7 separate regions of the Homo sapiens genome follow, and regions 2, 3, 4, 5, 6 and 7 are each linked to region 1. The links are contacts of gene promoters, found by promoter capture Hi-C in blood cells and fetal thymus (Javierre and others, 2016). All regions are on one chromosome and are shown on one strand. Each heading gives the region's core, a stretch centred on a gene start or on the middle of the fragment in contact. The rest is flanking DNA. Distances are from core to core; before and after follow the strand shown. Region 1 holds the start of ACVR2A (activin A receptor type 2A). Region 2 has its middle 500 kb from the start of LINC01911. Region 3 has its middle 480 kb from the start of ACVR2A. Region 4 has its middle 470 kb from the start of ACVR2A. Region 5 has its middle 440 kb from the start of ACVR2A. Region 6 has its middle 420 kb from the start of ACVR2A. Region 7 has its middle 390 kb from the start of ACVR2A.

Region 1 (4,322 bases), core at 1,254-3,753:
TGTTTCCCATTTTGATTTTTAAAAAAAATCAAATATCTAGAAATGAAAAACTGACAACCTGAGAATTTTTAAAATTCTCATAAAAATAGTCACCTCATGCTTCCAACATGTCAGATCACACATTTTGTAGAAAAATCAATTAGTTGGAGAAACATAATAATCCTTTTTTAGAGTGCATCTGATCCATAACAAAAGGCTTTTAAAAATCAGACATTTTAAGTACTCAAATTGTTCATGTATAAATATGGATTAAGGTCTTTATGATTATTTCAATTATCTTCAACAGAATCACATATTTTAGTTCAACTGGGAATGTTCATCTTAAAAAGCCTATGCAACAACATAATATTAGTTTAATATAAGTGGAATATCTATATGCCCTACAGCAACAAAATCACTTTATTTCAAAATTATAGCTATTAACCTCCTGGCCCACTGAAAATAATCCTGGCCCAATGAAAATAATCCCACAAGAAACTAATGCTCAATTATTTTTACTACCAAACCAAGCAGAAGAAGCTGTAAGATCTGTAGCGACAGCCTGCTTTTCAAGAAGTAATACCTTGAGACTGCTCAAGAATAACCTCCTTCATCAATTAGTGTGACTCAGGTGGGTTTGAGAGGGAATAATGTCCACAATTCCTTGGTCAGTGGCCATGATGCCCCTCCTCCTCAAGGGCAAGAGATCAGAACAAGGGATTTGAACAAGAGGAGTTCACCAGCCACAACATATAGAAGCAGAGGAAAAAAGAGTACTACTGGAAAGATAAAAACTACATGGTTAAGTCATGTCACAAAAGCAAGAGGTTTAATGTTATCAAGGCCTTCATTCATTTCAGACACACCATTGTTTAGCTTCCTTCCCAAACCGTGCACAAAAAGAACTGTCAGCCTGCCTTAAGCATGTTCCTTCTTCCATTTAAACAGACATGATTCTTTTGGTTAATCTCTGGCAATGATCGCCATTTCACAACACATTCAGCCCACCCGGAACTGATCAATACCACTACAGACATAAGACTAGACTTTATCCATTTATTAACCACAAGGAAATGTACCATTCAGCAAAATTCTATACATTACAAAAGATTATATTTAAAGGGGGGTGGGGAAGACGGACACAAACACACAAACACACACACACACACCCCACAGAGGTACACAAAGAAGACTACCACCCTTTAATTTTCCTGTGGCAAACGAGATAAAGACATGGCCATGAAACCTGTCAATTCGCCCCCGTTTCCAAGAGTCCCCCGTAATTCTATGCCACAAGCTTGTAACTGAATATTAAATTTTACAATAAATAGATCCAATGAGACTTATTTAAAATGTTTCATCTATTGAACTAACTCTCCTGTTATGTACATCTGCACACCTTTCAGCTAGATGCTGTATTTATTTATAGAATTTCAAATACAAAAGACTAGATAGTTTTTCCAACCACTGGTTGCAACCATAGAACGTCCTCACAAAATCAAAATTTCCAATATAAAATGGCCCGTTTATTCCCCCAACCTTGAGCTAAAACCTATTTTATGAGTGTACTATATTTAACAAAAACAATTTCACATGGGTTGTTCTAAACCGAAAACAATGCTTCAATACAAAGCGTTTAAAATAAGTATTCCGTAGGTAAGCAAAATCTATGCCCCAAAAGAGCACACAAATGGTGGTTGAACGCCAGCACATTACCAATACCAAGCGGCATACCTCTTCTGCACTGGGTTATAGTTAATACTCCAACAACAACTACAACTATTTTTAACACTGCTGGACGCTGAAGTTGAAGAAAACGTGAGGGGAGACCCAGATTAAATTGCTGATAGGATGTATTGTTTCCCACAGCCAAAATTAAGCAGCAACTGGCTTGATCTATGTCGTGATATTCACCGGTGAAGCACTAATTAAACGATGACAAAAAGCAACCCTTGTTTTGGAGGAGCCCACACTAAATACTCCTTTCAGATCTCAACCTTTGCATAAATTGTCACTTGTGGTATTTGCGGCTTAATTGCAACCCAACCAGCGCTGTCATCCAGTGTTATGGCCACAAAACATGACTTTCTCACTTCCACAACAACACAGCACTCACTCTTATCAGCTCGCCGACCCAACTCAAAAAGAGAAAAATGCATGGAGGTTTCCAGATCACAATCAGACCTGGGGGCGGGGGGGGGGGGCGGTGGCAGCCGAGGGGCGCAGGGAGTGGGCAACCTCCCCAGGCTCCACTGGACTCTCCGACTCAACACCAGCCGCGGCCCCCAGCAGCGGCCGCCGCGGCCGCAGGAGCAGCCCCACCGCGCCGCGCTCCCTGCACCTACCTGAAGAACAGGAGATAAGAAAGACGGCAAACGCCAACTTTGCAGCAGCTCCCATTTTCCCGAGGCGCCGGGGAATCCGGAGGAAGTTCTCGCTAGATATCCAGTTCCCTGGGTCTTCCTCGGAGACAAACCTCCTGGTGTAAAATCAACCGTCATAAAACATATTCGGAAGCCCAGACCAAAAAAAAAAAAAAAAAAAAAAAAAAACGCTCACTGGGTTAAAAAAAAAAAAGAAAAAAAAGAGCACAACGATAAAAAATAAAATGCACCACGGGGGAAAAACCGCCACACACACGCACAACACACAAAACCAAACAACGAAAAGCCAACAACAACAAAAGCGGGTTTAAATCACTGTCAAAATCACTGTCAGCTCCGCTCGCCTCTCCCGTCTCTCGGAACAAAACGCCAGGCTGAGGCGACGAAGAGGCGGCGGCGGCAGCGGCGTCCGCTGCCGCCCGGACAGTCTGGGAACTGACTGGGTCCGATGTCCGGACCGACCTTCAACCCAGACACCTAAAGTCCGAGGACCACTGGCGGCCGAGCTCGCGGCGGTGGCGGCGAGGCGGCTGCGGCGCGGGGAAGGGGCGGCGGGCGGCAGCGGCGGCGGCGGTGCAGGCGGCGGCCAAGTTCTGGTCCAGGCTCTGGCTCCAGCTCCGGGCTCCGGGCTCGGCCGCGTTTTCGGTCTCCTGGCCTCCGCCGGGCTCCGCCCCCCAAACTTCCGGTTCCGGCCCGAAGCTGGAAGCCAGGCGCAGCGGAGGAACGCTCGGCGGCAGCGGCGGCGGCGGCGGCGGCGGCAGCGGCGGCCGGGCGCAGCGCGCGTGCCGGGCCGGGAGCGCGAGGAGATTGTCGGGGAAGCGAGGCGGGAGCGGGGGAGGGGTGAGAGAGCGAGGGCGGGGCGGAGTGGAGGGCGAGGAGGCGGGGCGGACGGAGGCTCGATACCGCGAGGCCTCGGCGTCCGGCCTGCTTGGGCTAGAGATACCGCGACAAAGGGGCGCGGGCGCCTCAAAGTCCCTAAGCTGTGGCTGGGCTGTGGCCGGGCGAGTAGATGCGGGCTAGGCCGGGCACGACCCGTTTCCAAATCGCGTCCGACGGGCCTGTCTGGAGCGCCCACCCAAAGGGTCAGGAGAAGCCCAAGAGGAAGAGGACCCCGAGGTGGGGCGAGTGGCCAGGGACTTCTCCAAGGGGCGTCTGCGGCGCCCAGTCTTTCCTCTGGGGGGACGCCTCGTCCGCTCTGATACCGAGGAGTCGGTGGAAGGCGGACGTGGGAGCTGTTTCGCCGCGCCCGCCGAGCTGCCCAGGCGAGCTCGCGACGCGCGAGCTGGTGTGTGCGCCCCCAGACTTAGCACTGCGTCCCACCGCTGCAGCTTCTGCACACGCGTGCTGTCTTGGTGACTAGAAAAGAAAAAGAAAAAACTCACGGAGGAAGGGCTGTCCACCCGCTCAGGATATTCACGCCATTTATCACGATGCGCAACTTGAATCCATTCCCGCCGTTCCTTTTACACACAAAGCATTGTGTTGAAAACTGTTTTGCACGTAATAGGTGCGCAAATACTTGTTTACTGCGCTTTGAAGAAAAAAATGAGGATTTCGAACGACATATTTGATGATCAGACAAGTGATTACTTGTCAAAATTTTAGCTATTTAAGGGCCTGTTTTTACCCCTTAATCCATGTCGATTGCTTACAAGCTGGTGTGCTAGGCACGGAATGGGATCCAACAGGTAAAAATAGGATGGATCCCTACCTCAAGTAGCTTTTAGTATTTGCTGTATTCAGTTGGTTGCAGAATACAAACTAGAGACTATTGAAGGTAGTTGCTCTGTCATTTACCACACTTTAGTGAGCTTCGTGAAGGTAGAGATCTTGATTTTTTCCTTATTTTATTCCAGCACCCAGAAGTATCAACTAGCACATAAGTGCTTAATAAATAATTGTATAAATGACTAAGGGATGACTGCCTTTCTCTTAAATACAGTCTCTGTTAATGTACTC
Region 2 (4,322 bases), core at 758-3,257, 500 kb after region 1:
ATTAAAGTGCTTGATAGTGTCACTTGCTACCAAGAATGTGGAGCAATGGGGGCACTCACATATTGTTACTGGGTTTAAAAATTGGAACAATACTTTTGGGAACATAGTGCATTTATCTTATAAAGATGACCATGACTATACCCCTTTGATTATCAAAATAACTCATAACTATGCATATTATGCACACCGGAGAAACTTTTATACAGTAACCACTACCAGGAGATTTGCATATGTACAAGAATATCCAGACCCAGTTAAATGATTACACAATTTGTGCTGTCTTCCTACAGTAGCATTCTCTACTGCAGTGGAAATTAATGAACTGCAGCTGCACACATCAATCTGGATGAATCTCTAAAGCATGATTTTGAGAAAGGAATCTTAAAATGATACATATGGAATGATTGCATTATATGAATCCTAAAACAGCCAAAATCAAATAGTGGATTAAGAAAGCATATTTATGTGTCAGTGTGCTTGCACACTTACATATGTGTATATGATAAAACTATAAAGAAAGGTAAGGAATGAAATCGAGTGGGGGCATATACTGGGTGGGTAATACAATAATATTTTGATAAAGATGTCCTGGCATGAAAATTCCAGAGGAGTTAACTAAAACACTAGTGGGAAATGGGTGAAAAGGGAAGAAATATTTCACTTTTCAAATTACCAAGTGTCAAAGAAAAAGTACTTTTCTGGATCAAAACAAACAGACAACAAAATAAAATGAAACAACAATGACAACACACACCTAATGTTTAAAAATACAAGCTACAAATATGAAATAACAAGTAAATCCAAAATTATGTCAGAATAACAATGTCAATTCAACTATAAAGAAAATAAAGTTAGGCCAGGTGCCGTGGCTCATGCCTGTAATCCCAGCACTTTGGGAGGCTGAGGTGGGTGGATCAGCTGAGGTCGAGTTCGAGACCAGCCTGGCCAACACGGCAAAACCGCATCTCTACTAAAAATACAAATTTAGGCGGGCATGGTGGCGGGTGCCTATAATTCCAGCTACTTGAGAGGCTGAGGCAGAATTGCTTGAACTCGGGAGGCGGAGGTTGCAATGAGCTGAGATTGCACCACTGCACTCCAGCAAGACTCTGTCTCTAAATAAATAAATAAATAAAGTTGCCTAATTTAAGAAACAACAGGAAGAAAGCAGACGACTAGATTTGTTAAAAACAAAACAAAGAAAAAAAGTGAAACCCATCTCTACACAGAATGTAAGAGACCTACTTTTAAAAGCCACTTAGAAAGATGAAGGAAAAGGTGAGAATGTATGTTCAAGTCCAATGAAATCAAAATTTCAGGGTTAGGAAAGATTATTTCATATAAATAAATGCAAAGCAAACAATGTTACATGCAAAAGAGGATGTTTAAGGAAATTGCCCACAATAGAGATATAACGATCCTGATCTTTTAGTATAAACAACAGGATAATATAACATTTTTCTGTATGGATATTGGAAAATCATCATACTAATGCAGCTTCTCAATTATGGCATCTCAAAAAATTATCAAAGGAGTTAACTTGTAGAATTACCTTATTGGCAGGCTTTATATTAGAGTGGTTTTTTCTGGATCAGCCAACCTTAAGATTTATGATCTTAAAAAATAAAAATACTTTACTTTGTAACCTGGAAAATAAGGGACCAAATTTCAAATTAAATGCAGCCACATCTGCTGCTATTTTGATCATTTTCATAACCAATCATTTTATTTTTTTTGGTGGGGGTGGCTCAGACTAGTTTTCACTGGGTTTCTATCACTTGCAATAAAAGGAATCCTAAGAAACGCATATAGCAGCTGGATATGGATATCTTGTAAATCAACTGGATATGCACTCGCCTGGTAAAATACCCTAAGACATTGCAATATCTACAACAGTTCTTAACAAAGGCTCAATATCTGAAATATAATCTAGTAAGTAAATTCAGGCAGTAATATATCAATTATTGGTAAAGGTATATTTTCAATATAGTATTTGTGTACAAGTTATTTGTTTGTTTTTGTCAGAGTGGTTGAGGCTAATCATAGTGATTACCCAGTTAATACTCCAGGAACTGGCTTGTGAATCATTTTATTTCCAAACAGGTCCCTTGTTTGAATAGAAGACAAGACAAACAGTTCAAGGAAAGCAAAGTGCTTTTCAGAAAGAACTTAAAATGGTTCTTGGGATTTATACTATTAGAATAGCCAGTTAACAGAAATGTATAAAATGTTATTAAAATGTTCACCAAAGAAACAGAAGCATATGAAGGAGAGATAATATAATTGCAATTGGATTCGGTGATTTCAAAATCAACTAGGAATTTTTAAAATTTTGGTGGGCAGTGGATGAAGATGTTCTAAGATATTTAACGAAGTGAGGTGTTTTTCATCCAGCCACTATACACAAATAGTATAGTCCATATACTATTTGTGCAGAAACTCACCTTTAATGGTAGGATAAGACATCACACAATGTGTTTGAAACACTTCTGCTGAATCTATGGTAGGAATTTACAGTCAGTTCTCATCTCACAGCTTGTAAAACTTGACTTTGCTTATCATAATATCTTATTACCCATAAATCCCGATGAGGCACAGGCCATCATCATTCACTGAAGAACATTTTTAGTTAAGTGCCTTCATTCAGAATGGCAGTTACTACCTGTTCCAGCCTTGCACAGGTTATGATTATTAAGTTCTTCTATCTGCAGACATAACTCGGTGCATTCCCTCAGCTGACCTTAGCCACACATTGCAACCCGTTAGGTGTCAGTGTAGGGTTTGCATTTAGTTTTGCTGCCCTGAAACTATCATCCAGTCACTCCTGATCATCAGTATATTTAGTAAGCCAAATCCTTTTCTTACTAGCCCTATAATTTACCTACTTTCTATAGCTAGGCATCTGCAGGACTCTTCAGAATCCTTTGGCTGGGGCCCGGCCTGTCTCCCTAGACCTTTTTCTCTGTGAGAGGAGACCAGGTCTTTATGGCTCCAACTAATTTTGGGTTACTATTTCAATTCAAATCAACTGACTCCCTTACTCTGGCAACAAGATAGTCATTCCTACCTGAGTTTGCATTACTTTGTCAGAGTCTATTGTCATGTGCCAACCCATTAGCTTATACCCTTTACACATTTATACCCATCAAAATCAGAGCTGAAAGGGCCAGGTTGTTTGTGAATTGGGAAGCTGGATACTTACAGCCATTAGTTTGAAACCTAGCCTCAGCCTTTTCTTCCTACTGTTCTCCATTGAACTGTTGTTGAAATCTAGACATGCTTTGAGGCCAATTATGACATCTGATTCCACTGCTTTTGATGCCAAGTCTATGGCCTATATCTGTGATATTCTGACTATGAAATTAGCAGAAGGCAAATGGGGAAATACTTCAGAAATTTGATGTTCTTTTGACACATTAATACTTTATTTAGAAAAATCAAAGCAAAATTAGAATTTGCAATGTTATTTTTTAAAGATTGAATCGAATCAAAGAAGCTAGCTGCTAGCTTCCCTAAGATATAATTCATGTAATCTGTAATATACATTTATTAAAAATAGATTAAGCATTCTGGAAATATGCAATCTTTATCATGTTTTGGCTTTACAAATGGCAAGTGATATTAATTCATTTTACTGCCTCTTGAAGAAAAATTCTTCCCTGGATTTGGAAGTTAAACAGTGCTTGCCTTTGACCTTAGAAAAGTTTTCAGAGCTTTCAAAGCCTACGTTCCAATTTGTAGTGAACATGGACCACTGTATCTTACTGCTGCTTGTTCTCTCAACTTTTTTGATTTGGCTTTGGTACAATTAACCAAAAAGCCTCTGATTTCTTATTACTTACCAGTAATTTATTATGGGGGGATAACCGATCATCAGGTACAAACTGATTAAGGAATTGGGTGCTATTAGAGGACTCAAAAATTCTGTAGTTTAACATTTACATTTTATACTAATCACAAGCTGCTTTTGACATTGTAAAAATTAACCTCTACTTTTTATTATGACTCCAAATACTGCAGCACTAAAGTTCTTTGCTCAATATTTATTAAATTCTTATCCACAAGGCTAGAAGAGTTATTTAAAGCTTGGGACTCATTTCTTATACATTTTGGTATCATTTCTACCTGAAATTTTTGATATTGAAAGAGTTCCTTGATTTACTGCTTCATGATGAGCAAGTTTTACTATTAAAACAATGGAGATCAATATTATCTAAGATCCTAAATTGGCTGTTGTGCCCATTAGAAATTCATTCTGCTCTAAGTAACCACCCAGCTTATAGTGTCTTAAAAGAATTGCGTCTTATATTTGTTACATAACA
Region 3 (4,322 bases), core at 781-3,280, 480 kb after region 1:
AATTCAACTGTGTAATTCCCCGAGCATCTTTCTGAAGTCACAAATAATAAAGTGCAAGTACTACTATTTATTAATTAGAAGAGAAGATTTATAGAGAAGAAAGTAGTAATGCAAGCTTTGCATTTCTTTATTCACTTAAATAGTTTTAAAATATTTTTATTTTGGGAGAGATACTCATATTGAACAAACATTAAAGATGATGCAGTGTAGTCACCACTTCCACTGTGGAGAGTATGTTATTAACAGGATATCAAATACATTGTTACGGTTGGCTGGAAAAAGCATGGACTTTGGAGTTGAAAAAATGTGGGTGTAATCCTTAGTGTTTCCTACTTCTTTTTTTTTTTTTCTCCTTTTTTTAGATGGAGTCTTGCTCTGTCGCCAGGCTGGAGTGCTGTGGCGCAATCTCGGCTCACTGCAACCTCAGACTCCCTGGTTCAAGTGATTCTCCTGCCTCAGCCTCCCTAGTAGCTGGGATTACAGGCATGCGCCATCACTCCCAGCTAATTTTTGTATTTTTAGTAGAGACGAGGTTTCACCATGCTGGCCATGATAGTCTCGATCTCCTGACCTCGTGATCCACCCGCCTCAGCCTCCCAAAGTGCTGGGATTACAGGCGTGAGCCACCTTGCCTGGCCAGTGTTTCCTACTTCTAACTGTGTGATCATGTGTATATCACCTCTAAGTCACAATGGGAAAAATAACACTTGTTTTAAAAGGCTGTTGTAGGATCAACTTAGAAAAGGTAGCAAAAGTGGTTGGGATGTAAGTTGCGTGCTTTTCCCTTTTCCTTTTCCTAGATGTGGAATCACTCAATTTGGCAATTAATTTTATGCTCATCTATTATTTTCTTTTCTTTAATTGCTTCTCAGTTCTGCCTCTATAAATTCATTATGATGAGGATAATATCTTACTGTTCACATTATCTGCAGTGTTGGGCTCAGAATCAGTGCTCATTATCCACAGGTTGATGAGAGGAGGATAAGGTGGCCATGTTAGAAAGCAGTTTTCTCATAGTTTTGTGGACTAGAAGGGGCTTTCTGAAATCTCTCAGAGCAGTTCTCTACTTCTGGCTACTTTTGGCATGCATCATGGCAGCTTGCAGTGAAACATTCTTAGGGAGATATCCTTGTAAGGCAAAGAAATTCACCAATATTTATTGGTACAGTGGCGAAGAGTTTGGCTCATCTATGGAGGAGAGGTCAACTACATATTTTTGGTAATGGCTGGAATAAAATCAGCATTCAAAACCATTCATCTTTTAACCATCACTTTGGTGGGGGAAAGGCAAGGTGACTGGGCTGTAGAAAGAGTTGATCTCTATTGTAATCTGAAGTTCTAAAGTCACCTGGTAGTTAAACTTCAATTCACTAGGATTTTAAGAATAAGAAACACTTACTGAAATGACTTCAGAAGAGATTGTCTAGATTTACTAACTTCATGTGAACTTAAAGTCAGTTACAGGGTCTAATGGTTCAGAATAGTCATGTAACTTGTTCCAGACTTACCACATTCTATTCTGTATTCATTTAGACAAATCATTTTATCCTGTTCATAGTGGTTCATCTACCAAATATATCTGCAACAAATAGAGCTGTTATAATTTCACAAATGAATGACATAAGAACTTTTCTCGCATCTTGCAGGTTGGTATGAACACTAAAATAAATGTTTATAAAAAATTACAAAATAAAATTCTATTGCCAAAGAATTATGTGTCATAGTGTTTCCTAGTAGACCATTTCTCCATAAGGGTAGGAACTACATCTACTGTTTTAACTTTAGTGCCTTAACAATGCCCAGCACTTAGTAGGCACTGACTACTGTCAGGTGAATAAATAAAGGAATGAAGTAACAGATGCTGAAGCACCTGAAGTGAGTGGCTCTTGGTAGATATTTTCCTCTGAGAATTTGTTGGTTAGTATGTATTCAGAATTTGGAGCTGCTTATGTCTCAGGGATACAAGTTCATTTTGGGCCAGAGTGGTCAAATCAGAAGTACCCAAAACTTAAGATTAATCAATTGTTTTCCATCTGGCAAATTTTCATGAATGAGTAGGACCTTTGGGAGGGATTAAGGAATTGACTGGACCATTTAAATCAGCAGATCCAATAATGCATACTGTGTATCGAACAGTGCCCCAGATATTAGCTGGCTAATAGATATGGACTGACTGGGGCACCCTAGTCCTAGATAGTTTGAAGGTACAGAGGAATGTACTTCCGGGGCCCAGCTATTCTAACATAGCTTAGTAGGAAAGATCTGGTTCAAATGGATCATGCCTCATATGGCATATTTAGATGCCACCTGGAAAAACTCCAACCACCTGAATTCAAATTCTGGTTTTACTACTTTCTAGCTATGTGATCTTGGAAAATTTGCTATACTTTTGTGCCTCATGTCCCTTAGCTGAAAAGTTGTGACAAATTTTAATTTTTCTGCCTCCCTCATAGTTTTTATAAAGATAAAATGAAATAATCTATGTAAAACATTTATTAGTCTGCCTGGTATATAATTATAGCTCAGTAAGTGTTAGAAGCTATTATTATTATTAATATTAGTACTGCCTCATTGAGGTATAAAACCAAGTTGTTAAGGTATTTGGTGAGTATAAAATGAGTTTCAACTCTTTTTGGAAACCAAGGTATGTCATGTGGCTCCATAATCAATGGGTTTCTGGTTAGTCTCTTTCATTACAGTATAGGTTCCTTACAAACTCACCTGCCAGATTTTAATTGCCTTTGACTTCCACTCATCCAGTATAGTGATTGTCACATGGTAGGTTTTCAATAAATATTTGGTGAATGAGAATGAGTGAAACTTACACAAAGCTGCAGAGTGTTTATGTACCATAAAAAATGCCCACGGTCATATTTAGTGTTGGGTTTTGTTCTATGATAAGATTTCAGAAGTCTTTAGAAATTTTCTTTAAAATGTTTTTGTTTAAAAGTAAGATAAATTAAAATAAATCTCCCTAAAATATAATTGGCCATGTTTATTTTTAGAAAAGAAACTACTACTGTGTTTGGATAGGAACAATCTGTACTTCTCCATAAATATGTCACATTTTTGAACTACCAAGAAAAAAAACAATAGAAAGAAAAATTCAATCTCCTGTTGTTTCAAATTCCATCCAATTTAGAGATTTTGTTTTTGTTTTTTTTTTTGTTTTTACCACTCCTGGTGTCAGCTGGGATGCAGTGCTGGGTGATACACATGGATGAGGCCAGGTCTGGGTGTGAACCAATCTGCAGTTAGTGTATAATATCAAAATGCATTTACTCTTCATCCTCGCCCACTCTATCTGTGCCTGGTGGGTTAAATGTAAAAAACTGTGGAACCCAACATAGGCCAATTCTTCTGGGTTACCTGCTGTTATTAGCTAGTTTATATGTACTTGCACATATTTTCTCTGAATCCTCGGAGATAATAATTTCAGACACTCCCTTAGTGTGCCTGTCTTAGATTTCCTTCACATTCTGTCACAGGAGGAGCCACCTGATTCTGAACCTTTTTTCAGGGTTTGGATAAGTTTGATGCCTCCCACTGTTCTTGCTGCTGCTCAGATGACTCCTTTCCTAATCTGTGTTCCCACAGCTGCCATCTTTTTGGGTTGCTTTCTTGGCTTTCACTCTTGCTCGGACCTTGACTTCAGGGTTGAGGAAGTTGTCACAGTGCAATCCTCAGACTCCTCTGACTGGCATGTGAGATCACCTTTCAACCTTTGTAATCCAATAGGAAAATCACAAAGAACAGTTCCGTAAGCTGATAAAAGTCAAAACGAGTATAGGAAAAATGGTACATTACATGCAAATAAACAGAAATCAAAAGAAAGAACAAGAGAAAAGAAGAGGAAAATTTCATGGTTTTTGCTTCTCCTGAGTCTATAACAGACTGCCCAGGTGTTACCATTTGTGGATCTAAAGACATTTGAGTGAAAGCTTTCATTCATCAAAGGAACATCAGGAATTGTGTGCCTACATACAGTTTAGGTAATATTAGCTCTCATATTAGCATTAGGGAAACACTAATGTTAGGCTCAACTCCAAGGTTTCAGTGGCTAGCCCAATAGCAGTTTATTTCTTGTTCATTAATCAGTCCAATGTAGGTGTTACTAGTCCATGGGACTTGAAGGCTAGGGGTCTACTGAAAATGTCAATCATCAAACCAGACTGACAGGTGCTGCCATCTTCCCCATAGGGTTTCCAGTAATTAGAGTACAGAGGAAGATATATGAAAGGTTTTTCTGGATCAAGTTTGAAAGTGGTGATCATCAGTCACTTTTACTCACATTCTCTTATGTGAAACTCACGTAAGCTAAA
Region 4 (4,322 bases), core at 684-3,183, 470 kb after region 1:
GTATCTAGAGAACAAGGGATGATTCGCTCCAAGGAATCATTGAAATGTTTACATTCATTTCAGTTATCATTAATAGCAATTTTTAAGTAAAATATTTTACAAAATGCAAGGTAGGTAATAATATAGCTTTGTAAAATCTCTTATTTGGCTTATTGCAATTTATACTTTTCTATAATTTTTATCACTTCTCTGCATGCCATAGCACAGCATGTTTTGTCTATTATGCTCATTTCTAAAAACATTTTGATGAATTATTAATGACTGAAAGGATTCCCATGTAAACAGCTGTGCATCTGTCCATCTATCCACCCATCCTCTTTTCATCTACTCATTTATGTACTAGGAAATGTGCTAACATGTAGAAAAAGCTAGAAAAGCCTCAAAATGATTATTCTCATTGACTCACGAAACTAATGAAAGACATAGGCAAAAAAGTAAACAATTAGCTTGATGTGGTAAGGCTGCTAATTTAGTCTAGGTTTTGTGAAGATGAAGTGGTAGAAGTGTTAATAGAAAGGAGACATTGGGGGATAGTAAGTTGCAGCTGAGCTGTGTTTTGAAGTATAATTAGGAGTTATCAAAGTGAAAGGCAGATAGGAGGATAGAAGCTGAAGCTTATATAAAAGCACAAAGTTCTGAGAGAGCACGTGATATGTGGGGAGGTGTAATGTACATCATTTAATATATCTGGAACATAGTGTATAGGCGAGAGCTGTTAAATATGAGAGATACAAGCAGGCAGCAGATCATGAAAGCTCTCATGAGCTCAGAGTGTTTACACTTTTCACAAAACTTGTTGGAAAACCACTAATGGGTTTTGAGCAGAGTAGAGTGATCAAATATGTATTCTAGAAGGACTTCTCTCAGGGTTGTGGAGAATGGATATATAGAGAAAACAAAACCTGCAGTGGAGACATTAGACTGTGACTGAATGAGAGCAGGGTGTGTTCAAGGTCTTGGAGATACCTTAAACAGTGTCTGGCACATGGTAATTCCTCAATATGTATTTGTTGAATAGAGGAATAAATGCACAGATCATGCAATACATTTTTTAGGTAATTTCAGTAAGAAATGATGAAGGCCTGAACTAAGGTATTGGTAATGGAGAAGGATAAAAAGCAGATCATTTAGATCAGTGCTTTCTAAACTTTTCTAATCATGACCTATCTTAAGAAATAGACATACATGACTCCATATACAGAGCCCCCATCAGAAACTAATGTTTTTACTGAACAATATTTACTTCCACTACCTGTGATGTACTCTAATTTCTATCCTGTATTATGCTATGCCATGCTACACTATTTGTATTAGTTTGCTAGAGCTGCTGAAACAAATACAGTAGACCTGGTGGCTTAAACAGAGTACATTTGTTTTCTCACAGTTCTGGAGATAGAAGTCCAAGATCGAGGTGCTGGCAGGATTGGTGTCTTCTGTGGGCCATGAGAGAAGGATCTGTTCCAGGCCATTCTCCTTGTCTTATGATCATCTTTTCCTTGTATCTTATGATGATTTTTTCCTGTGTATGTCTGTATTCCTAATTTCCTCTTCTTATCAGGGCACCAGTCATAATAGGATTAGGACCTACCCATATGACTCATTTTCTCTTAATTACCTCTTTAAAGACCCTATCTTCAAATATAGCTACATTCTGAGGTACTGGGGGTTAGGAAGTCAATATATGAATTCTGTGATGACTCAATTCAGCCCATGATACACAATTTTTTTTTTTTGACACAGGGTCTTGCTCTGTTGCCCAGGCTGGAGTGCAGTGGCATGATCATAGCTCACTACAACCTTGAACTTCTGGGTTCAAGTAATCCTTTTACCTCGGTCTCCTGAGTAACTGGGACTATAAGTGTAAGCCACCATGCCCAGCTCCTATTTTACATATATATATATATATATATATATATATATATATATATATATATATATATATATATGTATTTTTTTTTTTTTGAGATGGAGTCTTGCTCTGTCGCCCAGGCTGGAGTGCAGTGGCATGAACTCGGCTCACTGCAAGCTCCGCCTCTTGGGTTCACCCCATTCTCCTGCCTCAGCCTCCCGAGTAGCTGGGACTACAGGCACCCGCCATCATGCCCAGCTAATTTTTTTTTTTTTTTTTTGTATTTTTAGTAGAGACAGGGTTTCACCGTGTTAGCCAGGATGGTCTCGATCTCCTGACTTCATGATCCGCCTGCCTCGGCCTCTCAAAGTGCTGGGATTACAGGCATGAGCCACCGCGCCTGGCCGCCCAGCTTCTATTATATATTTTTTTAACCAACCAAAGTTTGTAATGTACGTTGGGGTTCACTCTTTGTGGTGTACATTCTATAGGTTTTTAAAAAGTGGATAATTATATATACCTACTTTTATAGCATTATACAGAATGGTTTCACTGGTGTAAAAATCCCCTGTGTACTATTTATTCCTCCATCTCTCCAAACCACTGGCAACCACTGATCTTTTTACTGTCTCCATAGTTTTGCCTTTTCCAGAAGGCCATATAGTTGGAATCACATAGTATGCAGCCTTTTCAGATTAGCTTCATTCACTTAGTAATATTTTCTTTTTAAAATGCTGTTCCTATCCTGTTAAATTGCTTTCATGACAAACTAAAGATTGCTGTCTTCTATTTGGGAAAACTTGGTTTAATGGGATAGGAAAGAGGTAGAACTGGAAGCTCTTGGTGACTGTTAAACTATGGGGAGGAAGAGAAGAGGGGTCTGGAACTCAGAAGACAGTCTGTGATGAGCATTTGGCTGGCACACAGGTGATAATTGATGTCTGAGGTGTAGTTGAGTCCACCCAGAAAGTGAAGAGAAGGTGAAAATTGAAGAGTTGAGGAACCTAGAGAAAGTCAATCCCATAGGTGTCAAACTTTGTCTTAGGTTTAATTTTGAGTTGAACACCTTTAGCTATGTTAGTTTGCAAATATTTTGTTTTTCTTGTGAACCATTTATATCTTGTGTAAACGTTTCTATTGGTTTGTTGATCTTCTCATCAATTTGTGAGAAACCTTGATGTCTTAAAGAAAATATCTCATTGACAGATGTTTTCAAGTATTTCTTCCTTGTGTTTTGACTTTGTTTATGATATTAATTGCTATGAAGAATGTTTAATTTTATATGCAGTTTTATGTCTTTCAAATTTTATGATATGCATAGCAAAACCTTCTCCACTTTAATATTATATAAAGAGCAATCTGGTTTTTATTGTACTTTTATTCATTTATTTGTTTAAGCTTTATATTTAGAAATTTGATTATTTTGAAATGTTTGCAGGTGGGGTAAGATAGGGATGCAATTTTCTTTCTGTGTGTATCACCTGGCAATTGTGCTAGCATTCTTTATTAAGTAACTTCTTTTTTATTCTCTGAGTTTTCAATGATATATTTATCACATACCTGTAGTAATACATGATATATATTATCTTCATCATTATTATCCCTCATCCATATGCATTTTTATAGACATCTTGACTAATTTATTTTCTTTGAAAAATGCATTAGTGAATGATCTTTAAAATAAATTTTCAGATACAATCTGCTATTTAAAAACCCACACCCTAAATGAATAAGTCCCCAAATGAATACCTCAGAAATTTGATTGGGACCATGATAAAATTAGAAATTAACTTAGAAAAGTTGCCTTCTTTAAACTACTGAGTCACCATATTCAAGATAAATTTATTGGCCATCCATGTAGTTTAGGGCCATGGTGGTGGCTGAGCTAACGTCTGCAAAAATCTCCTTCCTCAACCATAAGAAAAACATAAGCAAATTCTATGCAAGACCATGTCTTTAGCATAACTTGAAGACAGAGTATGAGAAAACTGCAGAATAACCAGTGTGAATAGCAAAAAATGAATGAATTTTCAAATACACACACACACACACACACACACATGCACACACACTTTACCTCATCCTATAACAGAAGTTTAATACAAATTGAAATAATTGCTGAGGGCCTTTGGGATCAAAGGCTATTGGCATCAGGTACAAGATTTCCATTGACACTAATGGAACTTTAGTGGGATTATCTCAGGAAATGAATCTGAAGGATGGCAAACTTTAAGTTTTTCAAAATTAATTTTGCTTGACAAAATTAAATTTTCTTCACATGGGAGAGGGACAGATTTATATAAATGTATGAGAGAGGCAAATGGTAAAGTTCTGAGCTTTAGTGTAGGATGCATCTTGATCATTCTCTTCCTCTCAAATTCATATTTTATTAAATTTATTTACACACTCATTCAAACTGAACTTGTGGCAATTAGTCACTTCTTAGGTAATGATTAAGCACATATAATCTTTT
Region 5 (4,322 bases), core at 562-3,061, 440 kb after region 1:
TTTAACTTTCATGGTCTAATTTATTAATATTTCTCTTTATATATATGCTTTGTTGTCAAGTCTAAAAACACTTTGCCAAGACCTGGAGCCCAAATATTTTCTCCTGTAATTTTTTCCCCCAAATTTTATACTTGTACAATTTACCTTTAAGTCTGTGATGCATTTTGAGTTAATCTGTGTAAGGTGCAAGGTTACGCAAATTTGTATAAGTGTGAGGTGTAAGGTTTATGACAAGATTACTATTATTTTTGCCTATGAATGTCCAGTTGTTCTGGCACCTTTTGTTGAAAAGACTCCATTGGTTGTTGCTTCTTTGTCAAAATTCAATTGGACATATTTGTGTTGATCTCTTTATGGTTTCTCTCTTCTGTTCTATTGATCTGTGTGTAGATTGCTCCATTAGTATCACACAGTCTTGACTACTGCAGCCAGACAAAAAGTCTTAAAATCAGGTAGACTCTTTACTCTTCCATTATTTTTCTTTTGCAATTTGTTTTTAACTATTCCACTTCTTTAGCCTTTTCATATTATTTTTTGAATAATCTTGTCTATATCTATGAAAAATGAGCAAGGATTTTAATAGGAATTGCATTACACTTGCATATAAATTTGTGGAAAACTAATATTTTTACTATGTAAAGTCTTTTTATCCTTAAACACAGTATATCTCTCCTGTTCTTTAGATCATTGATTTCTTCCATCAGCATTGTTTTAAATATTTCATTGACATACATTTAGAACCATATCAGACAGTGTTATAATTTTGGTTCAATTGTCAAACATGATTTGGGAAAATTTTAAAAAGGAAAGTATATTGCATTTATCCATATTTTTATTTACAAAGTTCTTCCTTCTTGTTTCGAGGATTCTACTTTTATCATTTATTTTCTGTTAAGAGAATTTTCTTTAGCCATTCTTTTAGGACAGGTCTGCTGAAGACAAATTCTCTTAGTTTTACTTCATCTGAGAATGTCTTGAGTTCCCCTTATTGCTGAAGGATATTTTCTCTGCATACATTATTCTTGGTTGATAGTTGTTTTCTTTCAGTATTCGAAAAACTGTGCCACTTCCTTCTGGCTTTCATAGTTTTTGATAAGAAATCCATTGTCTCTGATTTATTATTTTTTAATATAGGTAAGCTTTTGTCTCTATCTCATTACTTTTAGGATTTCTTTGTCTTTGTTTATAGAATTTTGACTATGATGTTTTGTAGTGTGATTTCATAGTATTTCTCCTGCTTTGGGTTTGCTTAGCTTCTTAAATCTGTAGGCTATGTCTCTTGCAAAATTTGGGAAATTTTCAGCTATTACTTCTTTGAGGTTGTCAGTTTCTTAGGTCCAACTCTGGAATATATGAGGCATAAAGAAAACCCAGGGAACTTATCACCATGTTGTTTCTTGAGTCCTGAAGGTCCTATTCAGTGTGTCTTCTTCTTTCCATTTTTTAGTTCACTAATGTTTGTCTTACAGTCCAGAACTTTTAGTTGTACTTAGTGAGAGGAATAAGAAAATGCATCTTTATTCCATATTATCAGAATCTATATAAGTTTTCTAGTTGTATCTCTTGAATATTTATTGCACATAGGACTACCTGTTCCTTAATACTTTGCAAGAGTTTTCTAATGAAATTAGTTGGCTGATTAACAAAAAATAAATCCGAAAGAATTTATTTCTCAAAATGTTAAAGATAATTTATAATGAAGATTATATCTGAATTGGTCTTGAAAAACTGAAATTCACAGGATAAAAACTGGTTAAATCCTTTCAGGTGTAAAGAACAGTAGGAGTCATCATACTAAAGAGCATCTTATAAAAGTTAAGGTAAGACAAGAGTAGATTGAAAATAAGATTTTAAATTCCCAAATCTTAAATGCTTGTACACCGTTGGTGGGAATAGACATTAGGTCAGCCACTGTGGAAAGCAAGTTGGAGATCTCTCAAATAACTTAAAACAGAACTACCATTCAATCTAGCAACCTCATTACTTAGTATATACCCAAAGGAAAATAAATTGTTCTACCAAAAAGACACATACAGTTGTATGTTCATCACAGCACTATTCACAATAGCAAATATATGGAGTCAATCTAGATGCCCATAAGTGAAGGACTGGATAAAGGAAATGTGGTACATACATATCATGGAATACTGTGCAGCCATAAAACATGAAATTATGTCCTTTGCAGTAACAGGATGCACCTGGAGGCCATTATCCTAAGCAAATTCACACAGAAATAGAAACCCAAATACTGCCTAGTCTCACTTATAAGCAGGAGCCAAACACTGGGTACACATTGATATAAAGATAGGGACAATAAGTACTGGGGACTACCAGAACAGAGAGGGAGGGAGAAGAGTGAGGGCTGAAAAACTACCTAGTGGGTACTATGCTTAGTACCTGGTGACAGGACCAGTTGTACCCCAAGCCTCAGTGTTATAGAATATACCCATGTAACAAATCTGCAATCTAAAACAAAAGCTTAAATTATCTTTAAAAATTCCAAATAATGTTATAAAAATAAACAAATCTTTATAATGAGAGAAGAATAGAGGTTTTTTTTTTTCTGGCAGTATAGTAGATGAGCAATTTTCAGATGTTTTGTAGTGGGATAATTTTTTTACATAGCCATATCTAAAATTGACAAAGAAAGAAGCAAAGATTTTTTTTTCCATTTCCCCCCTTTTTCATCAAGAAGGAAAATATTTTCCAGAAACGCTCCCTCTCAGCAGATTTTTATTTGTATTCTGTTGGTCAAAATTGGGTCAAAGGGCCATGTCCTTAAACCTATCACTGACAAAGACAATGCACTGACCATTTTATTAACTGTCTTCCCCTCCCCCAAGTTTTCTTTTTTTCTAATTTCTTTTTACTTAAAAATTTTATTTTACTTAAATTGCATAGAGAAAGGGTCTCACTATGTTGATCAGGCTGGTCTGTAACTCCTGGGCTCAAGCAATCCTCTTATCTCAGCCTCCCAAAGTGCTGGGATTACAGGTATGCACTACTGTGCTTAGTCCCCAATTTTCACTGTATATTCTTCTATAGAAAAATATGTAATTCTTCAATTATAAAAATATTACATATTTTTATAGACTATTTGGTAAATATAAAAGAACATGGGAAAAAATAAAAATCAGCCATAATGCCATAACTAATAGATATTTCTGATAATTTTTAGCTAACTTCAAATTGGATTTTATTTATTCGCCTTTAATGTGTTATGTTTTCAATACTTCTGTAGGCACATGCATATTTCACTGATCTCAGTCCTCACCACTGGTAATTTTACAGCACGTTGTTTTCATTTCTGAGCTCTTAATTTGATTGATATTTTGAGTGGCTGAAATGTGCACCCATATACACACATACTCTTAAAGAATGGCATATGGGTAATGTATTTTCCAAGCTCTTGAATGTTTAAGAATATTTGTGTGTTTCATTCATTAATATGTTCATTCCTGTAACAATTATTTATTGAACATCCTCTATGTACCTGGCACAATGTTAAATATTAGACTTATAAGGGTTAATAGGACAGATATGGCCCATGCCCTCTTGGAGCTTATAATTTACTAGGTAGCAGATATTTAAAACGTAAAGGATATGAAGACAAAAAGGAGAGATAAGGGTGATTATATTGGTATGTAATTCAGAAGGAACAACACAACAACCTAGTTTGAGGATCAGCGAACGTTTTTACTTTAAAAAAATTGCATTAGACTGAGACCTGAAATTTTAGCAGAAATGCAGAGTAGGAGGAAGAATATTCTGAGTAACAGAAACTCCATGAATGACGCATTGAGGTAGGAGCAGATGGCAAATTTGAGAGGCTGAAAGAGGACCAGTATACTTAAAACACTGAAAGTGAAGAGGAGTGGGACATATAAATCCTATAAAGAGTGGGTAAAAACTCAGTTGTGGATGGTGGATGGCCATGTGAATTACTGTTGGAATTTGGTACATTGTTATAAGGGCAATGAAAATCCTTGAGAAGTTTTAATATGGAGATACGATTATGCATTTCAAATAGATTACTCTAGATATTAAATTTACTTTCAAAATTCTGTATGCATCTTCCTTGTCTTCTGCAATTTAATTTACAAAGTAGAAGTCTGAGGCTAACTTTAATTTTGTTCCTTTAAGTGTAGAATACATTTTTTCTAAATGTTTATAAGAAACTTATTTATTCTTGAAAAACACTGTCCAAGGATTCCTCTAGATATAGATTTTTTTTACTTATTTTTTTTCTGGAACATATTGAATTATTTATATGCATGTATTTAGGACATTTTTAAAAGCCTGGAATGTTTTCTTTAGTTATA
Region 6 (4,322 bases), core at 898-3,397, 420 kb after region 1:
ATCTGGACTTCTGAAATTTTAGATTTCTTCCTATGCGACATTTGTGTTAGTAAATCAGAAACATGGGGGAATGTTTGAAAAGCAGCATCTTCTGATGCACGGACTTTGGAGTCATATAGACCTGGACTGGAAATCCAGTTCTGTTACTTATTAGCTGGAGGTATGTGACCTCAGATAAGTTGCCTACCCTATTAAATTGCTGTTTCCTGATCTAGAAAGTTGGAATAATAACACTTGCCCTACAGGGTTGCCATGAGAATTAAAGGAGCTAATTTACATATTTGTACAATTTCTCAGACTTTTAGACTTTCCCTCTTATGTACCCTTCTCTTTGGAGGTCAGGTGGCACTGCAACATGGAGCCACAGCATCTAGCTCCATAAGTCTCTCTGTGCCCAGTCCCCCTTTGTCTGGTTGCTGTCTGCCTCTCCTATCATAGAACCTCTCATATAGGGTTTGTTTACTATTTATTGATATCTGTCTCTGATAGACTGTGATCTATCAGGAAGCAGGAACTAGGTCTATTTCACCCTAAACAGCTAGCAGAGAGCCTCCCAAATAATTGAAAAAAAAAAAAATTATCGAACTTTCCCCAACTCCCCTTATGCTTGATTATTTGAAAGTTAGAAAACAAAGTCCTCATTTTGGCAGTGTTATTGATACAGGGAAACCTGAAAAACAATTCAATAAACTTAAAAATTTAGAGTGGCCAAGCTAAACAGGTTGAGATTACGGATAAAAACCAACCAAGCTGACACAAGACAGGGAATAATTATGTACATACAAAGGAAGTAGACATGACTGAATGTGAGTCAGCAGCCTAGTGCTGTTATTAAAAGTGCAAACATGATTCTAGGATGTATTAATAGATGTAAGACATGCAGAAGCCATGGGGTAATCTGCCTATTTTGACTTGGCATTGCTTGAGATCTTGTTGAAGAGCTGTGTATTTTTTGGTGCTCCATATTTATTAGAAGTTACTAAGAAATTGAGGAGGGTCTGGCTGGTGGATACAAAAATGGTTAAAGACATCAAATATATCTGCTATGAGGAGAGTTTAAACCTGTTGTGATATTTTCGCTCTGGAGAAGAAACTTGAGAGTATTAAATAAGCATAGAGTTTATAGTGCTTTTCAGCACACTGTGTAAGTATATGATGAATATAAGATAATGCCATTAACTCATAGAACTGAAGTACTCTTGAGAAGGTATATGATGCATGTGCCTTCCTGCAGGAAGCTGAGTGCTTAAGGCTTTCAAAATAGACAGTTTTCAATCCCTCTTGGAAAGTTGCATAACCTTGCTAAGTAATCATTCAGAGTTTTATCACTCAAGAAGTCAAACGACTCTTTTTCCTAAACCCAAATCTCTTCCTCTTTGATTTTGACAATATTCTCTGATTTTGGTCTATCACTGACGGGGAGAACTTGAATATCCTTTATATTAACTTCTTAGTATATCTCAAATCACTAGTCATCTCCTTGCTGTGATTTTGACATCTCTTTCCTAGCCTAAAATTCTCTAACTTCCCCTTCCTTAGGTACTCTTTGTAATTCTTTTCTGAAATTTCTCCCTGATATCCATACTCTGTGAGAGTGAGATTGATGACTTAAATGGGATATAATAATCTAAAGGTGTCTGACTTGTTAAAAAAAAAAAAGAAAACCCAAAATAAAAAAAAATTCGTATACAACTTTGGTTAACTATACTTCTCATTTTTTCCTTTAAAAATTCCTTTTCACCTTTTTTTTTTCCTTAAGAAGCTGCCTATCATTTATACAGTAACATTTAATTTCCATTTTGTAGGAATAGTTTTCATCTAGTAAAGAAAATTTTGAATCTGATTTTCCCGTCATAGTATTAGCATACATTTTGTGAATAGAGCATTGCTGCCCTTGTTCAGGTGTGGGTTAGACAACCTACTAGGAAGAGTACCAGCGCTGAGTCTTAGGGAGCTTACTAAAGGCAGCACTCCAGACTGGTGCAGAGGCAGCAATAACTATTCTTCAATATAGTCTTCAAACCAGGCGTCCCTTCACTCAATAGTGATAAGGTAAATTGCAAGATGAATGGGATAGAGTGAAAATTTTTTTTCATCATCACACTAAACCATCTTTTATTTTTTTCTTGTCTATGTGGGCTACTAACTAACCTAGTTGCCAACCTAAAATTGAGTACTTAGTAACACTATCTTACAACTGTTTCTCAACAATAAAGGGAAATAGAAACATTTTTGTATTTAAAAAATGGCAGGGTTTCAGCAATGTAATTAAATGATTGCGCCAATAAAAAGAAAGAACTGGTGGGCGGTAATGGGTAAACATGTATCAATAAAGTCTCATAAAATAATCATAATAATAGCAACTGATTTGTAGAATAAAAGAAAAAAACATTTTACTTTTAAAATACTGGACAACAATAATATGTGGATTAGGAGTCTTTAAAATGGGTTTAAAGTCCTTGTATTGTTCAGGAAAAGGATTAAGATATTAATTTATGTTGGAGTTTATTAAGCATACACAATAAAATTTCAAAGGTGAAAAATAAAATAACAAGAACAGAGTACATAATTTTTAAACTGGTAGTGGGAGCCAGGCATGATGGCTCATACTTGTAATCTCAGCACTTTAGGAGGCTGAGGCGGGCAGATCACCTGAGGTCAGGAGTTTGAGACCAGCCTGGCCAACATGGCAAAACCCTGTCTCTACTACAAACACAAAAATTAGCTGAGTGTGGTGGCGGGCACCTGTAATCCCAGCTACTCCAGAGACTGAGGCAGGAGAATTGCTTGAACCCCGGGGGCAGGGGTTGCAGTGAGCCAAGATCACACCACTGCATTCCAGCCTGTGAAACAAGAGCGAGATTCCATCTCAATAAAATAAAAATAAAAATAAATAAAATAAATAAAAATAAACTAGGAATGGGAAAAACATTAAATTATAAACAAAAGGCCACAGATAATAGTAACAATAATCATAAAGGTAAGAGTAATGCCATTTTTTCCTTTAAAAATTCGTTTTCACCTTTTTTTCCTCCTTAAGAAGCTGCCTATCATTTATACACTTAACATCTAATTTCCATTTTTGTAGGAATAGTTTTCATCTAGTAAAGAAAATTTACTAGATGAAAATCAGGCATACGAGTCTATGAGAATTGAGGAGCTTTCACAGAGGAGGTGGTGTTTAAGCTGAATTTTGAAACAAATGAAGATAGGGCTGGGGAAAGTGCATTTTATGCAGAATGTACAAAAAAAGAGCGAAAGTATAGACAGCAATAAGACTTTATGGGATTTGGGGAGCTGCAAGAAGTTCAGTGTGGCTGGAATTAGGTTTCAGTAGCCTAGTCTGGAAAACTAGGTGGAAACTAGACCATAAAGTAAGAGCCATGCAGGCCATGGTTGGGACCTGGGACTTTATCCCATGGGTTCCTGAGAGAGCCTCTGGAAGAATCTAGACCCTTGTTACCTTTTTACTTGGACTGAAATAACAGCAATGGGGCTAGAGCAAAGGACAATTATATGTGGCATGTTATGGAGGTGAAATCAATGGGAGTACATGATGTGCAGATGAGAAGGAAGGGAAACTGACCAGGGAACAAGGTTTACAGCTTGGAAGATTGCATGTGGTTATGCCATTTATTGAAAGAGATGCTATAGTAGATCTTAGTTTGAGGAAAACGATTGTGAGAATAGTTTTAAAAGTTTGCATTTTATAAGGACACCCAGATAGAAGTGTCTAGTTGGAAATATAGCTGTATTTAACAGTAAAATTAAAATAGATGGTTGTCTGCCATGAAATGTTGCGTCTACACAGATCTACACTCAAGGGCAATGGCTCCTTAAATATTAGAGAAATCAAGGTTTTAATACCTAAATATTCCTAAAGAGGAGCATGAGCTTGAAAAACAGTTGTTTAATAAAAACCGGCCTAACATAGAGGGCTTTCTCCAAATTTGTTTTACAGGTGCCTCTGGATGGATTCTACCAATATGTACTGCATGAATATTTTTCATATCTCACATTGGCTAAAAGTTGAGCACTATTCTATTTCCTCGCATTTTCCTAAGATTTCACACCAGGCTGTATTCATGGTACCATGTTCTTTGCATGCCTATATTTTATTTTTGTTAAAGGGAGAATAAATAGATAACAGGTCTTTTGAGGTCATAGAAAATTCAGACATTTTTTGAGTTTGTTTTGGAAGGCAAAAAGTTGGCAATCACACACATCACACAAACACATACAGATGCACACACACACACACACACACATGCACACACATCTTGTGCCTTCTGTTCTGACAATGTATCTTGCCCAGCTCCATC
Region 7 (4,322 bases), core at 788-3,287, 390 kb after region 1:
ATCTCTGTCTCTCTCTCTTTTTAGTTCCCTGATTGGTTGCTAAATTCCTTTAAAGTTCTAAGCTATGTATCATTAAGGACTGATAGTAAAAAACAACATTGAAAATGGTTTTGATTCTGGTTAGAAAAATACCCCTGGAGAAGATATTTTACCAAATAATATTGCTGTTTTGCAGAAGATTCAGTTTTGTCTTTTGTCTGCTCAAGTTCTTGTGCACCTTTCCCAATGCAAAAGGAAATAAATACACTTCTCTTAAGTATCACTCCTCCAAGGAGAATATGTTGGTTTAAATGGAGGAGGCAACTGTGGCTGAATAATATTTCTCAGCATCATTTGTGTGATACAAGGATGTTCCCTCCCATGTAGAGGATGTAAAGGAAGTGGCAGACTGTGTTTCCCTCTAGATCAGGCCAGCCAGGCTCTTACTGTATCCATGATAGTCTCCTTTCATGACTATACTAGGAATACCCCTTTCTTAGGATCCTATACTAATCCCTGTGGCCTACTAAGATAAGAACATACCAAGTTGTCAAATCTCCCCAATTCTCTGGTTACTTCTTCTCCTATGTTCATTTCTGGGATTGAAGTTGGAATAGGGCTAAGAGTTATGTTTCTTATCTTTATCTAAATGGCTCTTGAATGGTAGCCTGATTTTTCTCCCTAAATCACAAAATGAAATTACTTCTTAGTTGCTTTCTTCTTGTCTGGGGAACATAGTTCTAATGAAGTTCTCCAATAAACAATCAACAAAGAAGATTATAGTAGAATATAGTGTATATAGTGACCTCCTTCAAATGAATTACCCTCATTCTTCTTGCTCTTTATATTTCTCCAATATTATCATCTCCTTGAGAACTGGGAATGTGTCTTGCTCATTTTTGTATAATATTCTATATAATGTTCAATAATATTTATTGTAATGGAAGTTTCACAAGGTTCCACAAGGTCAGTTGCTTTTGGAATCCTGCTAATTCTGCCTTTCCTTCCTTCCTTCCTTCCTTCCTTCCTTCCTTCCTTCCTTCCTTCCTTCCTTCCTTCCTTCCTCTAAAGGTTTAACTGGCAGTTTACCTGGACCAATGTAGTTTAGATTCACCTTGAGAGCAGATCACCATCTGTGCCCTCTGAGCAAAAATTAGACCCAGATGAGGAAAGAGTTGATTAAAGTTGTTACTGGACAGGTAAAGCTTCAAATCACTTGCTGTCATTTCACAGCACATGAAAAATGTTTGCAGTTTTCTTTTCAACCTCCAGCCTGACACATGAGCCCACTTAAAGTCATTAGTGTATCACTGACACACTCTTTTTCAAGCACTTTAAACTGTGATAATGTTCCAGTGGCTGAAGTGGGAATTTGACTCATGGCTCATTAGTTGTCTTATTACAACATGCATGTTATCATAATCTGCTTTTGCCAAGTGTGTTGTTTGACGTTTTGTCCCAGAATTCCTCTCATGTCCCACCATGTCACCAGTGGGATATGACAACTCTGCTGAATTTTGCTAAGAGGGTAAACAAACTTGCTCTCCCTACAGATGGGTCACAGGTTGGTACACAGGGTGCACAAAGCAGCCTAAGGTAGCTGAAGGATTTAGAAGAGGACATAATTGAAAACAAAAACAACGGGCTTTTAGTATTGTCTTGCTACTTTACTAATTACTTAACTGTTATAACTCCTCCGTGACTTTTTTTCCACATCTTTACTTCTCACAGAAAAGACAACCAGAAAACTTTTTTTTTTAAAAGATGGACTGTTACATGTAGCACTGGAATTGTTGAGAGTAGCATTTCCGCCTAGATTTCTTGAATGTAAACTTCTTTTTACACTGATTGAAGAACTGTTGATTTTTTCTGCTGTGGGATGTAAGCAAGGAGCATATTGCCCTGAAGGGAGACTTAGGTGATGAGCTAACTCGTTTCCCAGAATTCCGTAGACTATATCATCATATCCCACTCTCAAATTCTCTCATCGTCTTCTTCAGAGGGAGAGGCTGGGGAGAGATGACTCTAGCCTAGGATGTGGATTGAGTCCCTGAGATTTATAGTAATCAAAATATTAATGAAGTAGTCGATACAAATGCTGTTTGTGTAGAATGCCTAAGTAACTGGTTGTGTAATATATCAGGAAGAGATCCAGATATGAGCAGAGGCAGAGCATAATAAATCAGGTCATTTGTTTTGCAATAATGGAATGATAATTGTGATAATTTCAGAAGTCACTATCATCCTGCAGCGTGAAAGAATCTTTTTGCTGGCTTCCCATTGTTTAAATATTCATGTGATGTCTGTGAGTGACTTCCTGCTGAGAAAAATCTTTGCATATCTCCGGCTGGCACAAGAACTAGAAATTGTGCTTTGCTTTAGCCTGGGAAGGTTTTGCAGGAACCTGAGTGCTCTCATGGTTTAGGGGGAATGTTCCTCAAAGAACAATTCCTTCAGTGAAATAAAGGCCCATGTTACTGAATTATTTTCCAAATGCCTTCTCCTAGCCAGCAGCTGTGTGAATTTATAGGCACTCACCTCTGCCCTTTTGCACTGAATGATGAGGCAGAGGCAAAAATAGCCATGCTAGCTTGTAACACAGTTATGCTATAGAAATATAAACATAGCTAATGACCCCAGAGAAGAAAATCCACAGTTGCTGTCACCTGCGCTTGCTTTCCCTCCTTCCCTCCCCCAGCTTCTCCGCATTCTGTTCTTGGTATGGATGAATGGGGCTGTTTTAATTGAGCTATCTAAATTTGGCAGGCCATACATCCCACTGTCTCATATCCCAGGACTTAGGTCCACCTGTTGCCATTATCCCCCCAACTCACACAGTGGGAGGTAGACAACACATGCTTGCAAATTCCTTTTCAGTATAAAACCCCAAAAGAATGGCAGTGAAGCTTTTAGAATTACTTGAGTACTGCAATGAATATGGATGTGGGTTTTTGCAATGGGGGTCATTTTAGAATGAATAATACTGTATAATTGCTTTCAGTAAATTGTATCATCAGTATGTATATTAGTTTGTATATAGATAGTGTATATTAGAATGTACTAGGATTGGTATTCTGAAGGTGTTTGGAGTTTTCACATTAGGCAAAATTCTGAAGTGACTGACTGAGGGGAAAATAGTAACGATAAAGAGGCAACAGTCCTTTTCTAAGAACTCAAGTGCTATGTGTTCATTGTTTTGTTGATCCTCCTAATTCTTATCTAGCATTAGGAAAGAATCACAATTCTCTTTTAAGGAGAAAAAAAAAAACAGGGGCAGATGGAAGAAAAGTGCAAGCCCAGGATTTTACAAGAATTAAAGGTAGAGCCAGCATCTCTTTATCTCTGATAGAATTCTGACTGCCAACTGAGTTTCCTTCCTTTAAGAGTTAATGGCCTCTAATGGCAGTTTGATTTGGAGGTGATTATGCATCTAAACTACCTGATTAAAAAATACATTTCCAAATGTGGCTGATTACCTATTTACATATTGCTAGGGTTTAGGTGAAATTGTGAAGTTTAGTAGGGTGGTGATTTTCTGAGAAACTCTGCTATGTGCTGAAGTGAATTCTGTTTTTAGCTTCGTGGTTAGATTGGGCATCAGTTAATGTTTAAATTGATAGTCATTTTTCCACTAAGTTAAAGGAACCAGTCCTGCATATATTCTTTCAATCAAGATAAAAGCAATGACAGCATTTTCTGGGTTGGGCGGAGGCTGGTTGGTTGGGGCTGCGTAGGGGGAGGGCTCTGGTAAAATCATCAAGACCAAGGTGAAATCCACAGCGTTTGTTTAGCACAGATCTGTAGATTACAGTGAGCTGTACAATGACATTTGGATCCACTTAATAGACTGCCCTCCGGTATTTTAGAGACTAATGCCAGCCAATCACACCAGGGTGATCCTAGAGAGGATCAAGACACTTAAAATGGCAAATAAATTGAATAACAATGCAGGAATGAAGTAACCTTACATATACAAAGAAGGGTTGCTAGGTAACAAGTGAGGGGGTGTCATGGCTTCAGATCAGAGAGGGCTGGTTAGAAAATAAAATGACATCCTCTCTTCTAATTAGTCCTCCTTCCCAATCACATGCATCAAGATAATCTTGTGGTTTGGGGCCTTAGCCTAGTTTGCAAAGCCCAGTGCTTTATTCTCTTTCTTTCACAGCGCCGTTTTCCTTTCTGTGCTTTAGGCTTGGTTCATTGGCTGCTGTTTCATCCTGGCTGACTATAGCAAAGCCAGTTAGCTACAAGGCACCGTGTTTGGTAGTGTCAACTCACCAGACCCAGTTCTCTAAGCAAATGTTTGCAATTTGATGAAAGACAAAGAAGGCATATTTGTCTGT

Evidence for each region. Contacts are between HindIII fragments. The CHiCAGO score rates a contact against its expected background, and 5 or more counts as called.
Region 2: a fragment that was not itself captured here is called in contact with the fragment with the promoter of ACVR2A in region 1 in 2 of 17 cell types (M0 macrophages and activated CD4 T cells); the score reaches 5.5 in M0 macrophages.
Region 3: a contact is called between a fragment that was not itself captured here and the fragment with the promoter of ACVR2A in region 1, in 4 of 17 cell types (M1 macrophages, M0 macrophages, naive CD8 T cells and 1 more). The highest score is 5.5, in M1 macrophages.
Region 4: a contact is called between a fragment that was not itself captured here and the fragment with the promoter of ACVR2A in region 1, in 1 of 17 cell types (M1 macrophages). The highest score is 6.7, in M1 macrophages.
Region 5: a fragment that was not itself captured here is called in contact with the fragment with the promoter of ACVR2A in region 1 in 3 of 17 cell types (M1 macrophages, M2 macrophages and M0 macrophages); the score reaches 5.9 in M1 macrophages.
Region 6: a contact is called between a fragment that was not itself captured here and the fragment with the promoter of ACVR2A in region 1, in 1 of 17 cell types (M1 macrophages). The highest score is 5.0, in M1 macrophages.
Region 7: a fragment that was not itself captured here is called in contact with the fragment with the promoter of ACVR2A in region 1 in 3 of 17 cell types (M2 macrophages, M1 macrophages and activated CD4 T cells); the score reaches 7.4 in M2 macrophages.

The regions. Positions count from the first base shown.
Region 1 is chr2:147,843,210-147,847,531 of GRCh38, reverse strand. ACVR2A (activin A receptor type 2A) reads right to left here and starts at 2,503. Exons shown (of 11, transcript NM_001616.5): 1 at 2,325-2,503. The coding sequence starts at 2,379. RefSeq lists silencers at 2,062-2,141, 2,897-3,006, 3,087-3,276 and an enhancer at 3,403-4,153. The HindIII fragment of the contact is 3,923 bases long and covers 1,279-4,322 here.
Region 2 is chr2:147,338,494-147,342,815 of GRCh38, reverse strand. No RefSeq gene overlaps it. Among named protein-coding and RNA genes, the nearest start is that of LINC01911, 500 kb to the right of the region's middle. The HindIII fragment of the contact is 4,160 bases long and covers 1-4,087 here.
Region 3 is chr2:147,359,345-147,363,666 of GRCh38, reverse strand. No RefSeq gene overlaps it. Among named protein-coding and RNA genes, the nearest start is that of ACVR2A, 480 kb to the left of the region's middle. The HindIII fragment of the contact is 3,826 bases long and covers 118-3,943 here.
Region 4 is chr2:147,375,883-147,380,204 of GRCh38, reverse strand. No RefSeq gene overlaps it. Among named protein-coding and RNA genes, the nearest start is that of ACVR2A, 470 kb to the left of the region's middle. The HindIII fragment of the contact is 2,633 bases long and covers 617-3,249 here.
Region 5 is chr2:147,401,155-147,405,476 of GRCh38, reverse strand. No RefSeq gene overlaps it. Among named protein-coding and RNA genes, the nearest start is that of ACVR2A, 440 kb to the left of the region's middle. The HindIII fragment of the contact is 1,339 bases long and covers 1,142-2,480 here.
Region 6 is chr2:147,421,454-147,425,775 of GRCh38, reverse strand. No RefSeq gene overlaps it. Among named protein-coding and RNA genes, the nearest start is that of ACVR2A, 420 kb to the left of the region's middle. The HindIII fragment of the contact is 5,932 bases long and covers 1-4,322 here.
Region 7 is chr2:147,449,298-147,453,619 of GRCh38, reverse strand. No RefSeq gene overlaps it. Among named protein-coding and RNA genes, the nearest start is that of ACVR2A, 390 kb to the left of the region's middle. RefSeq lists an enhancer at 3,704-4,219. The HindIII fragment of the contact is 1,701 bases long and covers 1,187-2,887 here.